Linked DNA regions of Homo sapiens: region 1 is linked to region 2. Evidence: promoter capture Hi-C in human tissues and cell types (Jung and others, 2019). All regions are on one chromosome and are shown on one strand. The core of a region is centred on a gene start or on the middle of the fragment in contact, and the rest is flanking DNA. Distances in the headings are between cores, read along the strand shown. Region 1 holds the start of LAT2 (linker for activation of T cells family member 2). Region 2 holds the start of VPS37D (VPS37D subunit of ESCRT-I).

Region 1 (6,171 bases), core at 2,328-4,827, 540 kb before region 2:
TGTGGTGGCACACGCCTGTGATCCCAGCTAATCAGGAGTCTGAGGCAAGAGAATCACTTGAACCTAGGAGGTGGAGGTTGCAGTGGGCCGAGATCATGCCACTGCACTCCAGCCTGGGCAACAGAGCGAGACTCCATCTCAAAAAAAAAAAAAAAAAAAAATGGCCGGGCACAGTGGCTCATGCCTGTAATCCCAACACTTTGGGAGGCTGAGGCGGGTGGTTCATGAGGTCAGGAGTTCAAGACCAGCCTGGCCAAGATGGTGAAACCCTGTGTCTACTAAAAAAGAATACAAAAAATTAGCCAGGTGTGGTGGTGGGCGCCTGTAATCCCAGCTACTCAGGAGGCTGAGGCAGAGAATTGCTTGAACCAAGGAGGTGGAGGTTGCAGTGAGCTGAGATCACGCCACTGCACTCCATCCAGCCTGGGCAACAAGAGCGAAACTCTATCTCAATAATAATAATAATAATAATGGAGGAGCTCCAGGCTGCCTACCTCCTGCCTTGGGATCCCCCTGAGGTCCACCAGGACCTGGGCTGTCCCCCTTGAAAGCTGTGTGGCTTTGGACAAGTCTCAGGACCTCTCTGGACTTCCCAAATCCCTGCGGTAAGATGACAGGGAATCTCCATGCGGCCCTGAGCCTCTGTAAGAGGCGCATCACAGAGAAGCCACCAGGCCTCTCCCCAAAAGCCAAGTGAGTCAGTGGGAACAAGTGAATTTCTGAGCCGTGTGACTGGCACGACCCACGTCACCCCGGGAGGTTGTCCGAGGAAAGCTCTGCTCTCTCTTCCCCATGGCCCGCCTGGGCACTGCCCTTCTCCCTCCTCGAAACTCTCCTTGCCTCAGTGCCCCCAACCCGGGGTGTACCCCCAACCCCTCCAGCATGGCCCAAGTTCATCTCAGGCTTGTGAGGTTGGAGCAACTTGTCTTGCAGGAGGGCTCATGGGACCAAATCTAGCCTCTGCCTGAGAGCCCCCCGCCTCAGTTTTCTCATCTATAAAATGAGGTCGGGCTGGGTACAGGGACTCACACCTGTAATCCCAATACTTTGGGAGGCTGAGACAGGAGGATCACTTGAGTTTGAGACCAGCTTGGCCAACATGGTGAAACCCTGTTTCTACTAGAAATACAAAAATTAGCCAGGCGTGGAGGTGCAAGCCTGTAATTCCAGCTACTTGGGAGGCTGAGGCATGAGAATCACTTGAACTCAGGAGGCAGTGAGTTGCAGTGAGCTGAGATCACGCCAGTGCACTCCAGCATGGGAGACAGAGTGAGACTCCATCTCAAAATAATAATAATAATAATAATAAATTAAATAAATGAATAAATAAAATGGGATCAGGCTGGGCGTGGTGGCTGACGCCTGTAATCTCAACACTGGGAGGCCGAGACAGGAGGATCGCTTGAGGCCAGGAGTTCGAGACCAGCATGGACGATGTAACAAGGCCCTGTCTCTACAAAAAAATGAAAAAATTAGGCAGGCGCAGTGGCACATGCCTGTGGTTCCAGCTACTTGGGACACTGAGGCAAGAGAATTGCTTGAGCCCAGGAGTTGGAAGCTGCAGTGAGCCAAGATCACACCACTGAACTCCAGCCTGGGTGACAGAGCAAGACCCCATCTCTAAAAACAAAAAATGAAATTTAACAAACAGTCATGTGTCTGCCCCCAGACTGAATACATCCTGCGCTGTTGGCCGGGTGCGGTAGTTCACACCTGTAATCCCAACACTTTGGGAGGCTGAGGCGGGCAAATCATCTGAGGTCAGGAGTTCAAGACCAGCCTGGCCAACATGGTGAAACCCTGTCTCTACTAAAAATAAAAAATTAGGCCAGGCACGGTGGCTCACACCTGTAATCCCAGCACTTTGGGAGGCCGAGGCAGGCAGATCACAAAGTCAGGAGATTGAGACCATCCTGGCTAACATGGCGAAACCCCGTCTCTACTAAAAATACAAAAAATTAGCCGGTCGTGGTGGCAGGCGCCTCTAGTCTCAGCTACTCGGGAGGCTGAGGCAGGAGAATGGCATGTACCCGGGAGGTGGAGCTTGCAGTGAGCCAAGATTGCACCACTGCACTCCCAGCCTGGGAGACAGAGCAAGACTGTCTCCAAAAAATAAAAAATAAATAAAAAATAAAAAATTAGCCAGGTGTGGTAGCACGTGCCTGTAGTCCCCAGCTACTTGGAAGGGTAAGGCAGGAGAACTGCTTGAACCTGGGAGGTGGAGGTTGCAGTGAGCCGAGATCACGCCACTGCACTCCAGCCTGGACAACAGAGTGAGACTCCGTTTAAAAAAATTCTGTGCTCTCTCTCTGTCTCTGTCTCCCTTTGTGTCTCTGTCTCGCTCTCACTTTCACTCTCCCATCCAGGTTCTGAAAGCAGGTGGGCTGAGGTGGAGGGAGCGGAGGGTGGACCCTCTGAGGCCCCCAGGGGCCGGCAGGGCTGGGCGGGGTGGGGAGTGGGGGCTGCCACAGACCACGGTTCTGCAGAGGCCAAAATAGCACTAAAGGGAAGTGGGCAGTTTTCATATGAACAACGATTGCCAAGAGCTGGCTTCGGGGAAGTTCTCGGGGCTGGGCTGGAGGAGCTACAGTGTCTGAATCCCGCCTGGAAGGACGCTCGAGACCACCCTGCCGGTTCTCCCAGCCTTCTCCGAGCTGAGCTGTGGTTGGGGACACTGGGGTTGGGGAGGGGGCAGCCTGGCTTGAAGCCCTGGATGGCTTTATCCACTGGACTCTGCTCTGGGGTCTGTTGGTTTTTTCATTTAGTTTTTAATTATATTTTTTTATTTTTATTTTTTAAAGAGATGGGAGTCTCACTATGTTGCTCAGGCTGGTCTCCAGCTCCTGACTTCAAATGATCCTCCCGCCTTGGCCTCCCCAAATGCTGGGATTACAGGTTGAGCCACCGTGCCCGGCTGGTCCTGTTGCTTTTTCCAAATAACTCTGGGCTTCAAATGAGCCTAGCTGGGAGGGAGAGAGGGAGGCGGGCGGGTGCAGGAGGGGCCTGAGCAGCCCTGGTCCCAGGGACAGAGTTGAGGGCCAGGTAGGGGGCTGGGCAGGGAGGCAGTGGGGGTTCTTCACCTGACCTGGGGCAAGACCTGGGCCCTGGCCTGTAATCCCACCGTTTTCCCCTGACCTGTGTAGGGGGTTACAGTCCCATTTCACGGATGAGGAAACCGAGGCTCCCAGGCCAGGGCAGCCACTGTTTTGGCTCTCGGCCACTTACTTCACCAGTCTCTGGCAATGATGGGACCACCCTGGGATGTCCCAAGGCTACACAGGCTGGACAGGGGAAGGCGAGGGCAAGAGAGTGGCCAGAAGCCCAGAAACAAACTGACCCCTGAAGTGCCACAGAGCCTGGTGCCAGGGTGAGAGTGGGGCTGCGGGAGGGGGCGCCAGGCATCCAGGCCTCTTCCCACCCCACCCAGTGGGGCCAGGAGCTCCTGGGGGATGGGGGACAGCCTGAGGACTGAGGCACCCCTGGGAAAGGCTTACCTGAGAGTCCAGGGTTCCTCACCACGGCCGCCCCATCCTGAGCCCGCACACCTGCCCAAGCTGATGCCAACACCACTGACACTGGCGGGCGGGCAGGGCGGGCTTCCTGCCAGCCACTGAATCATCCGTACATCCGCCGCACTGCCGGACAGGCTCAGCTATGAAGAGGGCGGTGGGGGGAAGGGAGGGGAGACGGGGGAAGGAGGCGGGAGAGAGAGAGAGAAGAGAAACAAAGTGAGAGGGAGAAAGAGAAGAAAGAGAGATAGGACCGGGCGAGGTGGCTCACACCTGTAATCCAAAAACTTTGGGAGGCCGAGGCGGGTGGATCACGTAAGGTCAAGAGTTTAAGACCAGCCTGGCCAACATGGTGAAACCCCGTCTCTATTAAAAATACAAAATTAGCTGGGCATGGTGGCATGTGTCTGTAATTCCAGCTACTCGGGAGGCTGAGGCAGGAGAATCGTTTGAACCTCAGAAGCAGAGGTTGCAGTGAGCCGAGATCGCACCACTGCACTCCAGCCTGGGTGACAGAGGGAGACTCCGTCTCAAAAAACAGAAAGAAAAAGAGAGAGACACAGCAGAGAGACACAAGAGAACAGGAAAATATGGACACACACTAAACACACACATAAACACAAAAAGTCACACAGAGAGGAAGAGAGATACACTCCAATAGACAGGGAGCAAGATAATGAAACTGAGGTGCTCCTGCAGATGGCAGATATGGAGACACACATACGCTAAAAAGACACACACAGGCAGAAATTCACACCCATGGGCCGGGCGCGGTGGCTCATGCCTGTAATCCCAGCACTTTGGGAGGCCAAGGCAGGCAGGTCATGAAGTCAGGGGTTCAAAACCAGCCTGACCAACATGGTGAAACCCCATATCTACCAAAAATACAAAAATTATCTGGGTGTGGTGGCGGGTGCCTGTAATCCCAGCTACTCGGGAGGCTGAGGCAGGAGAATTGCTTGAACCCAGGAGGTGGAGGTTGCAGTGAGCCAAGATAGCGCCACTGCACTCCAGCCTGGGTGACAGAGCAAGACTTCATCTCAAAAAAAAAAAAAAAAAGAAGAAGACACACACAGGCAGAAATTCATACCCATGGGCCAGGCACGGTGGCTCATGCCTGTAATCCCAACACTTTGGGAGGCTGAAGCAGGAGAATCACCTGAGGTCTGGAGTTCAAGACCAGCCTGGCCAACATGGTGAAACCCCATCTCTACAAAAAATTTAAAAATTAGCTGGGCATGAGATGGACCAAGACACACACAGAGAGACACACAGAAAGATACAGAGAGCCACAGACTGTCAGAGACACACACAGATGGGGAGAGAGCAAGAAACAGGGAGATAGAGGCCAGGTGCAGTGGCTTGCACCTGCAATCCTAACATTTTTGGAGGCTGAGGCAGGAGGATCGCTTGAGAACAGGAATTTGAGACCAGCCTGGACAACAGAACGAGACCCCATCTCTAAAAAAATTTTTTTAATTAGCTGGGTGTGGTGGCACACACCTGTAGTCCCAGTGTTTTGGGAGGCCAAAACGGGAGGATTTCTTGAGCCCAAGAGTTGGAGGCTGCAGTGAGCCGTGACTCTGCCACTGCACTCCAGCCTGGGGGACAGCAAGACCCTGTCTGTCTGTAAAAACAATAAATAGGCCGGGCGTGGTGGCTCACATCTGTAATCCCAGCACTTTGGGAGGCCAAGGCAGGTGGATCACCTTATTTAGGTCGGGAGTTTGAGACCAGCCTGGCCAAAATGGTGAAACCCCATCTCTACTAAAAATACAAAAATTTGCCGGGTGTGATGGTGGGTGCCTGTAATCCCAGCTACTTGGGAGGCTGAGGCAGGAGAATCACTTGAGCCCAGAAGGCGGAGTTTGCAGTGAGCCAAGATCGTGCCACTGCACTACAGCCTGGACAACAGAGCGAGACTCCATCTCAAAAAAACAAAACAAAAACAAAAAAACCCAAAAAACACAACAAAAAAATTTAAAATAATAATAATTATTATTTAATTAATAGCTCAATGGCCTTGGGCAGCTGTTTAATGGTCAATAGCACAAGGCAGTCCACCCACTTGTGGGATGTGGCTTTATTGACCTCAGGTGCCAGAGCATCCTGGCCTCCACAGGGAACTATCTCACTCGGTCCTCATGTCTGTGTGGATGGCAGCCACGGTGTCCACCCCAGGGCTGGGCACAGGAGCACCGCTGGGCAGGAGTGGGCTGTGGTCCCTCTGCCTGTGCTATGAGCCGTTCTCTGCACCCCGATGCCAGGAGCCTCATCTGTGCAGTGGGGTGATGAGACCCCCAAGGCTGGGGTGGAGCAGGGCTCTCCTTCCTTCTCCCACCCTTTAGCGCCCTCGCTGTCTGCAGCCTCTGACACTCGTGCCGTCCACTCCTCCACCTGTCTTTGGTCACTTGTTCCATCTGCCCTGCCCTCGTGGCCTCTGCAGGGGTCTCTCTGTCCCTGCCCTGCCCACCTACATCCCGCATCCTTTGTCTCTGTGTCCATCTGTCTCATCCTCTGGGACTCTTGCTGTCTGACCCTCTGTCTCTATTCCTCGCCTGCTTTTTTTTTTTTTTTTTGAGACAGGGTCTCACTCGGTCCAGAGGTGAAGCTGAATTTGAACCCAGACCCCAAAGCCTGGCTTCCTCACTGGGACCCCCTG
Region 2 (6,628 bases), core at 1,447-3,946:
CCTAACTTCTAAAATAAGGATGCCATCACCAGACCTGCTGGATCAGAGATGAGGCAGGAGCAGAGGCAGGGACATATGTGAAGTATAGACTTAACATGTCCTTCGGGAGCCCACCACCTTCAGCTCACTGATCGCTGCACTCCCAACCCAGCACAAAGTCTGCCCCAGCTCCTCTGTAGCCCCAGATCCACGCTGCCCTAGCCCAGTCACAGGGGAGCCCGAAAAAAATTCACAGGTAGGAAAGTGAGCCCTGCTGGCTGTCCAGTGCTGGTGGACAGCAATGCTAGGCTCTGGCATGCGCCAGGCATTCAGGGTGGACTTCCCAGAGGAGGGGCTCCCCAGCCTGAGGTGTAAGAATGAGCCAGGGGGTGGCAGAGAATGGGTCTCCCTCCTGGCCCCCAGCCCCAGCCACCCCTCCCCTCACCTCTGCCTCCTGCTCCGCCTCTTCTAGCTCAGCCTGCAGCCAGCCCAGCGCGCAGTGGGGACTCCAGCGATGCATGCTTTCCTCTGAGGGCCACAGAGGGACAGAGTGACAGACAGGCCAGGGCCCCGGGCTTGCACTCTCCCGCTGACCCCATGTGATTCTATATTTCCCTTTCCCCTGGTCTAGAGCCTCAGTTTCCTCATCTGTACCGTGCCCATGTGACCGCTTTGTGGATCCGGCCCCTACCAAGTTTCTGCTCCTCGTCCTAGTACAAAAGAGACAGGGGAGGCTTTGTCCCCCTCAGCATCTCAGGGGGACCCTGCGTATTGGGTCCCCTTTCTCCCACCCAACCCTCCCCACTTCCTCTCACTTCCTCAACTCTACTGCCCAGCAAGCCAGGAGCAGGTCCGCCCAACTCCCATCCATCAGAGCCTGGCACTTCCCAAGGCCAACCCACCGGATGGCCAACTGCCCCCACCAGCCCCAGGGGGTTCTCCCAGACGTGCCCTCACCCAGTCGCTGCAGCTTGTCCGCGCAGTTCTCGGCCACCTCACGAAGCTCCTGGTATTTGATGGCCAGGGCAGCCCGGCCCATCTCCAGGCGGGGCCGCAGGGCCAGGTTCTCCTTGGCCAGCGCGTAGTTGGAGGCCAGGCAGGCCTCACGCTCCAGCTGCAGGCCCTGGAACTGCGGGCAGAGAGGAGCTAAGAGGCCCGCTCAGGGGATCTGCCCTGTCCACCCTACTGCCCCGTCCACCCTACTGGGCGACCGTGCCTGAGGGCCAGGCCAAAGGCACCTGTCAGGCACCCCTTCAGGGTGGTGAACCCAACAGGTGAAGGGACGATGACAGGCCGGGACCAGAACTGGCTCTGCCCTGAGCTCCCTCTCTGGCCTCAGTTTCCTCTTTTACAAATCGAGTTAAAAAACATCCACCTTATGGGGTTGTTGAGAGACTTAAGTGAGGAAAACTATAAAGGCCTCTACAAATGTTAGTTAATTTTTAATTTTTCAATTAATATGTCTGCTCAGGTCCCGGAGGAGTGCCCCTCCCTCCTCTGCCCCATTTTCCATGCATGGACAGCTTCCCTCTCACTCCAGGCCTTTGTCTGTTTCCTCCTCAGGTGTTTGCACCGAAAACACTCCCACCCCCTGCTCATCCTCTCCAGAGGGGTGTCTGCACCCCGTCCCCTCACAGCACCCCCTCGGGTCACCCTCTCTTCCCTTCCCACCCCTTCCTCTGCCTCCAGTGGAATCCTCACACCCCAAGGAATACACACCCCCTTTTCCTCCCTGCTCCGGGCTTACAGCAGCCCCGGCCCTGGAGAAGGCTTTTTCCTTGTCTCTAGCAGGGCCCAACCTCCCCTCCCTGCCCCTGGAGAACGCACTCCCCTCCATCTGTCCCTTGTGGGATGCACAAGCCCCTCCTCGCCTGCCTGCTTTCAACACACACTTGCCCTTTCTGCCCCCCACAGACAACCAGCCCGGGCCTATCTCCCGTGAAATATACAACTTTCTCTTACGGTGGCCTATGCAATACACACGGCAGCTTCCAGCACCCCTCCCCAACGCCAGGCACAAAGCCCCCTCTTGCGCCCCCAGAATGCGTGAACCCCCAACGGCCCCTCCAGGTGTCAGACAGGCCCCTAGTTCTCCCAGTGGAAGGCGCCTCCTCTTTCTGGCCCTTACAGAACGTGGGTGTGCGAGCCAGGGCCCCCCACAACACAGCCCCCCGGAACACACCTCCCCGGAGCATCCGCTGTAGGACACGCCTCGCGGCCATCCTGGGGGTGCACAGGCGCCCCCCTCGGGTCCCCGGCGCCCCACCCGCCCCAGGCCAGCTCCAAGCGCCCCCTCCCCCGGGGGTGGCTCCGCGGGGCCCACTCGTACGTGCCAGGCTCCGCGCCCACGGGCGGCCCCGCGGCCCGGCCCGCGCGGCCCTTCCCTCGAGCGGCAGGTCCCGCAGGCCGCTGCCCGTCCCCCGCGCCCCCCGCTCGAGCCCCCCGCGCTACCTTCCTGCTGAGCCGCACGATCCGGTCCAGCTTGGGCTCATCCTGAAGCAGGTCCCGGAGCTGCCCGGTGCTGAGGATCCCAAAGCGCCCCGGGCTGCCGGGCTCCGGCCCCGCCCGCGCCGCCCGGGCCCGGTACATGCCGCCCGCCCGCGCCCCCAGCTCGGCTGCTGGCTCGGCCCGCTCGGCCCGCTCCGCCCCGGCTCCGCTCCGCTCCGCTCCGCTCCGGCTCCAGGATCCGCTCCGGCTCCGGCCGCACGCACCGCTCCGCCGCCAGGGGGCGCCCCTCCCGCTCTTAAAGGAGCCGCGGCGCCGGGGCTGGGGGTGGGGCAGGGAGGAGGCGGGCCGCACCCCTCCCCGCCCCGGCCGCGCCGCGCCGCCTCCAGCACCCCAGGATCGCCCAGCAACCCGATCTCCCCGCCCCTCCCGGAATCTGAGCCGCCCTGCTCTGCGCCCCAGCACCGGCCCTGGCTCACCACGCCCCCAGGCACGGACTCTCCCACCCCGGGCGGTTACAATTTGCAGAGCCCGTGCACGTTTTCCCCTCGGATGGCAACAACAAATTTCTGACTTTGGCCGGGCGCCGAGGGCTCCTGCCTTGCAGCCCTCCCCAAGCCTCAGTTTTCTCTTCTGTAAAATGGGGTTGGAGATGGTGAGCGCTGACTTGCTGGCCGGGCGCGGTGGCTCTCTCCTGTAATTCCAGCGATTTGGGAGACCGAGAAGGGAGGATCGCTTGAGGCCAGGAGTTTGAGACCAGCCTGGGCAACATAACAAGACCCCCGTCTCTATTTAAAAAAATTTAAAAATTGTCAAAAGGGTGAAAAGAGGCCGGGCGCGGTGGCTCACGCCTGTAATCCCAGCACTTTGGGAGGCCGAGGCGGGCGGATCACGAGGTCAGGAGATCGAGACCATCCTGGCTAACATGGTGAAACCCCGTCTCTACTAAAAATACAAAAAAAATTAGCCGGGCGTGGTGGCGGGCGCCTGTAGTCCCAGCTACTCGCGAGGCTGAGGCAGGAGAATGGCGTGAACCCGGGAGGCGGAGCTTGCAGTGAGCGGAGATCGCGCCACTGCACTCCAGGCTGGGTGACAGAGCGAGACTCCGTCTCAAAAAAAAAAAAAAAAAGAGTGAAAAGAACAATTTTTAAAAGTATTTAAATGCTTTTAAAAAGTATCCGGACATGGTGGCATGCGTCTGTAGTCCTAGCTACTCAGGAGGCAGAGGTGGGAGATTGCTTGAGCTCAGTTTTGAGACCAGCCTGGGCAACACAGCAAGACCCCATCTCTATAAAAGTAAAATTAAAATGCTGAGGGATAGTGATATGGCTAGCAATGTTATAATGAATACACATAGTAGGTCAATACCCACTTGTTATTTTAGACATGCAGAAGCATCACAGAGGCCGGGCACGGTAGCCCATGCCTGTAATCCCAGCACTTTGGGAGTCCAAGGTGGGTGAATCATTTGAGGTCAGAAGTTTGAGACCAACCTGACCAACAAAAATTAGCCGGGCGTGGTGGTGGGCGCCTGTAATTCCAGCTACTCAGGTGGCTGAGGCAGGAGAATCGCTTGAACCTGGGAGGCGGAGGTTGTAGTGAGCCGAGATAGCACCACTCCACTCCAGCCTGGGCGACAGAGACTCCGTGCTCCGTCTCAAACAAAGAAAAAAAAGAAAAAAAAGAGATGATGTCGCCTCCCCAAAGTCACATTACAGGTAAATGATACAGTCCCGTTTCTTCTCATTTGTACAGTGTCCACAGAGCATACGATGCCGCTCTGCGCTGAACACTGGGTTAGGCCCTGTGGGGACACTGTCCCTGCCCTCAGGGAGTTCATGGATTAAGGCAGAGTCCCATTCCCACTCAACTAATTCTAGTATAAGACAAATGGCAGGTGTCACCTCATGATGGCTTTGTGATTCCCATGTGATCCCCGATATGTCCTGTACCTTGTCTTTACAAATAGGTTAAGCCATTGTCCCCATCTCAGGAAATAGACACTCAGAAATTAAGTCAGACAATGAGTGACCCAGCCTGGGCAACACAATGAGACCCCCATCTCTGCCAAACATAAAAAATAAAGTAGCCGGCCGTGGTGGTTCGTGCCTGTAGCCCCAGCTGCTCAGGAGGCTGAGGTGGGAGGATCACTTGAGCCCAGGAGGTTGAGGCTGCAGTGACCTATGATTTTGCCACTGTACTCCAGCCTGGGAAATGGAGCAAGACCCCGTCTCAAAAAACAACAACGACAACTGAGCTTGTTCCACCTTAATACACTGCTACAAAAGTACAAAGAGCAATTAGGAAGGCTTACCAGAGGAGGTGGCATTTGAGCTGGGTTTCAGAGGTTGAATAGGAGTTCTCAAGTTGAAGGAGAAAATGATGAAAGCAAACAGAAATCCATAAGCCAAGGCATAGGGGCGGGAAGAGCTGAGCAAGGACTCTCCCTATCCAGCCATAGCATGGTGGGCAGGCATGGTGCCAATGTCTGGGAGAAGCGGCAGGACAGCCTTGTTGACAGACCATAAAAGTAACACTTCTACTTTTTTTTAAAAACAGTTCTACATTTTTACAACAACTAAAATTGGCTTTCCCCTTCAAGACTCATCTGGAATATCACCACCTCCAGGAAGCCCTCTCCACCTTCCCAGGCTAGGGGGTTATTCCCTTTTCCTCTGGACTCACACAGTCCCTTCACTTTCTTTTTAGACAGAGTCTCCCTCTGTCGCCCAGGCTGGAGTCAGTGGTGTGATCTCAGGTCACTGCAATCTTTGCCACCCAGGTTCAAACAGTTCTCCTGCCTAAGCCTCCGGAGTAGCTGGGATCACAGTAATTTTTTTTTTTTTTTTTTTTTTTTTTTTTTTTTTTGAGACAGAGTCTCACTCTGTTACCCAGGTCAGAGTGCAGTGACGCGATCTCAGCTCACTACAAGCTCCGCCTCCCGGGTTCACACCGTTCTCCTGCCTCAGCCTCCTGAGTAGCTGGGACTACAGGCGCCCGCCCCCAAGCCCGGCTAATTTTTTGTATTTTTAATAGAGACAGGGTTTCACCGTGTTAGCCAGGATAGTCTCAATCTCCTAACCTCGTGATCCGCCCACCTCGGCCTCCCAAAGTGCTGGGATTACAGGCATGAGCCACCGCGTGCAGCCTTCTTTTGTGTGTTTTTAGTAGAGATGGGGTTTTCACCATGATGGCCAGGTTGGTCTTGAACTCCTGACCTCAAGTGATCCACCCGCCTCGGCGTCCCAAAGTGTTGGGATTACAGGCGTGAGTCACCATGCCTGGCCCCTTTCACCATTTATTTTAGCCCTTACCTTGCCTGTGGACTTCTCTTTGGTTCCATTATTTTCTCCCTCAATTTCAGAACTCCTATTGCACCTTTGAAGCCCAGCTCAAATGTCACCTTCTCTGGTAAGCCTTTCTGAGCTCCCCAGTTTGCTCTGCCTCCTCAGGGCCCATTGTGTTCACTAAGTGTTCGGGGGTCTCCTAGATACTCCCTCTATCCAGCCCTCCCTCGGCCCCTCCCACTTTGTGTTACAAGCCTTCTTCAACCTAAAAGGCAGTGGTCAGCGCCAATGGGAGGTTCCTACCTCAGCTTGTCCCCTCTTTCTCGCTGATCCCCCTTTGTTCAGCCTCAATACCCCACAACAATGCCCCCTGTAAACCTTCCCCATACTCCGCAGACAACCAAGCCCACTCCTGTCCCTCAGCAGATAACTCTCCTGCCAGTTCCTGTCTCCACATCTTTGCTTTTTTTTTTTTTTTTTTTGAGACAGTCTCATTGTGTTGTCCAGGCAAGAATGCAGTGGCTCGTTCATAGCTCACTGTAGCCTCGAACTCCTGGGCTCAAAGGATCCTCCCACCTCAGCTTCCACAGTAGCTGGGACTACAGGCCTGTGCCACTGTGCCCAGCTAATTTTTTATTTTTTTGTAGCAATATGGACTTGCTATATTGTCCAGGCTGGTCTTGAACTCCTGGACTCAAGTGATCCTTGCACCATGGTCTCCCAAAGTGCTGGGATTACAGGCGTGAGCCACCGCGCCTGGCTGCATGTTCTTTGCCTCTGTCCAGAGCCCTTCCTTCCCTACTGCCTCCAGGAAGGGCAACCTCTCTTCATTCCAAAGCCAACCCAGGTACCCTTGCTGTGGGTCTCACTTTCACCTGTCTCCTTTACTCCTTTAAGATGCCTTGGGAGGGGCACCG

The links. The method cuts DNA at HindIII sites, captures the fragments that hold promoters and counts their contacts. A contact is called where the count stands out against the background at its distance.
Region 1: a contact is called between the fragment with the promoter of LAT2 here and the fragment with the promoter of VPS37D in region 2, in 1 of the 25 tissues and cell types used here (dorsolateral prefrontal cortex).

The regions. Positions count from the first base shown.
Region 1 is chr7:74,207,412-74,213,582 of GRCh38, reverse strand. It overlaps LAT2 (linker for activation of T cells family member 2), which reads right to left and starts at 3,577. Exons shown (of 14, transcript NM_032464.3): 1 at 3,495-3,577. RefSeq lists enhancers at 504-563, 694-773, 2,644-2,763, 3,984-4,093 and silencers at 2,454-2,543, 3,654-3,703. The HindIII fragment of the contact is 33,709 bases long and covers 1-6,171 here.
Region 2 is chr7:73,663,899-73,670,526 of GRCh38, reverse strand. It overlaps VPS37D (VPS37D subunit of ESCRT-I), which reads right to left and starts at 2,696. Exons shown (of 4, transcript NM_001077621.2): 1 at 2,431-2,696; 2 at 937-1,108; 3 at 425-507. The coding sequence starts at 2,568. RefSeq lists an enhancer at 1,539-2,534 and silencers at 2,516-2,815, 2,926-3,025, 3,036-3,085. The HindIII fragment of the contact is 19,506 bases long and covers 1-6,628 here.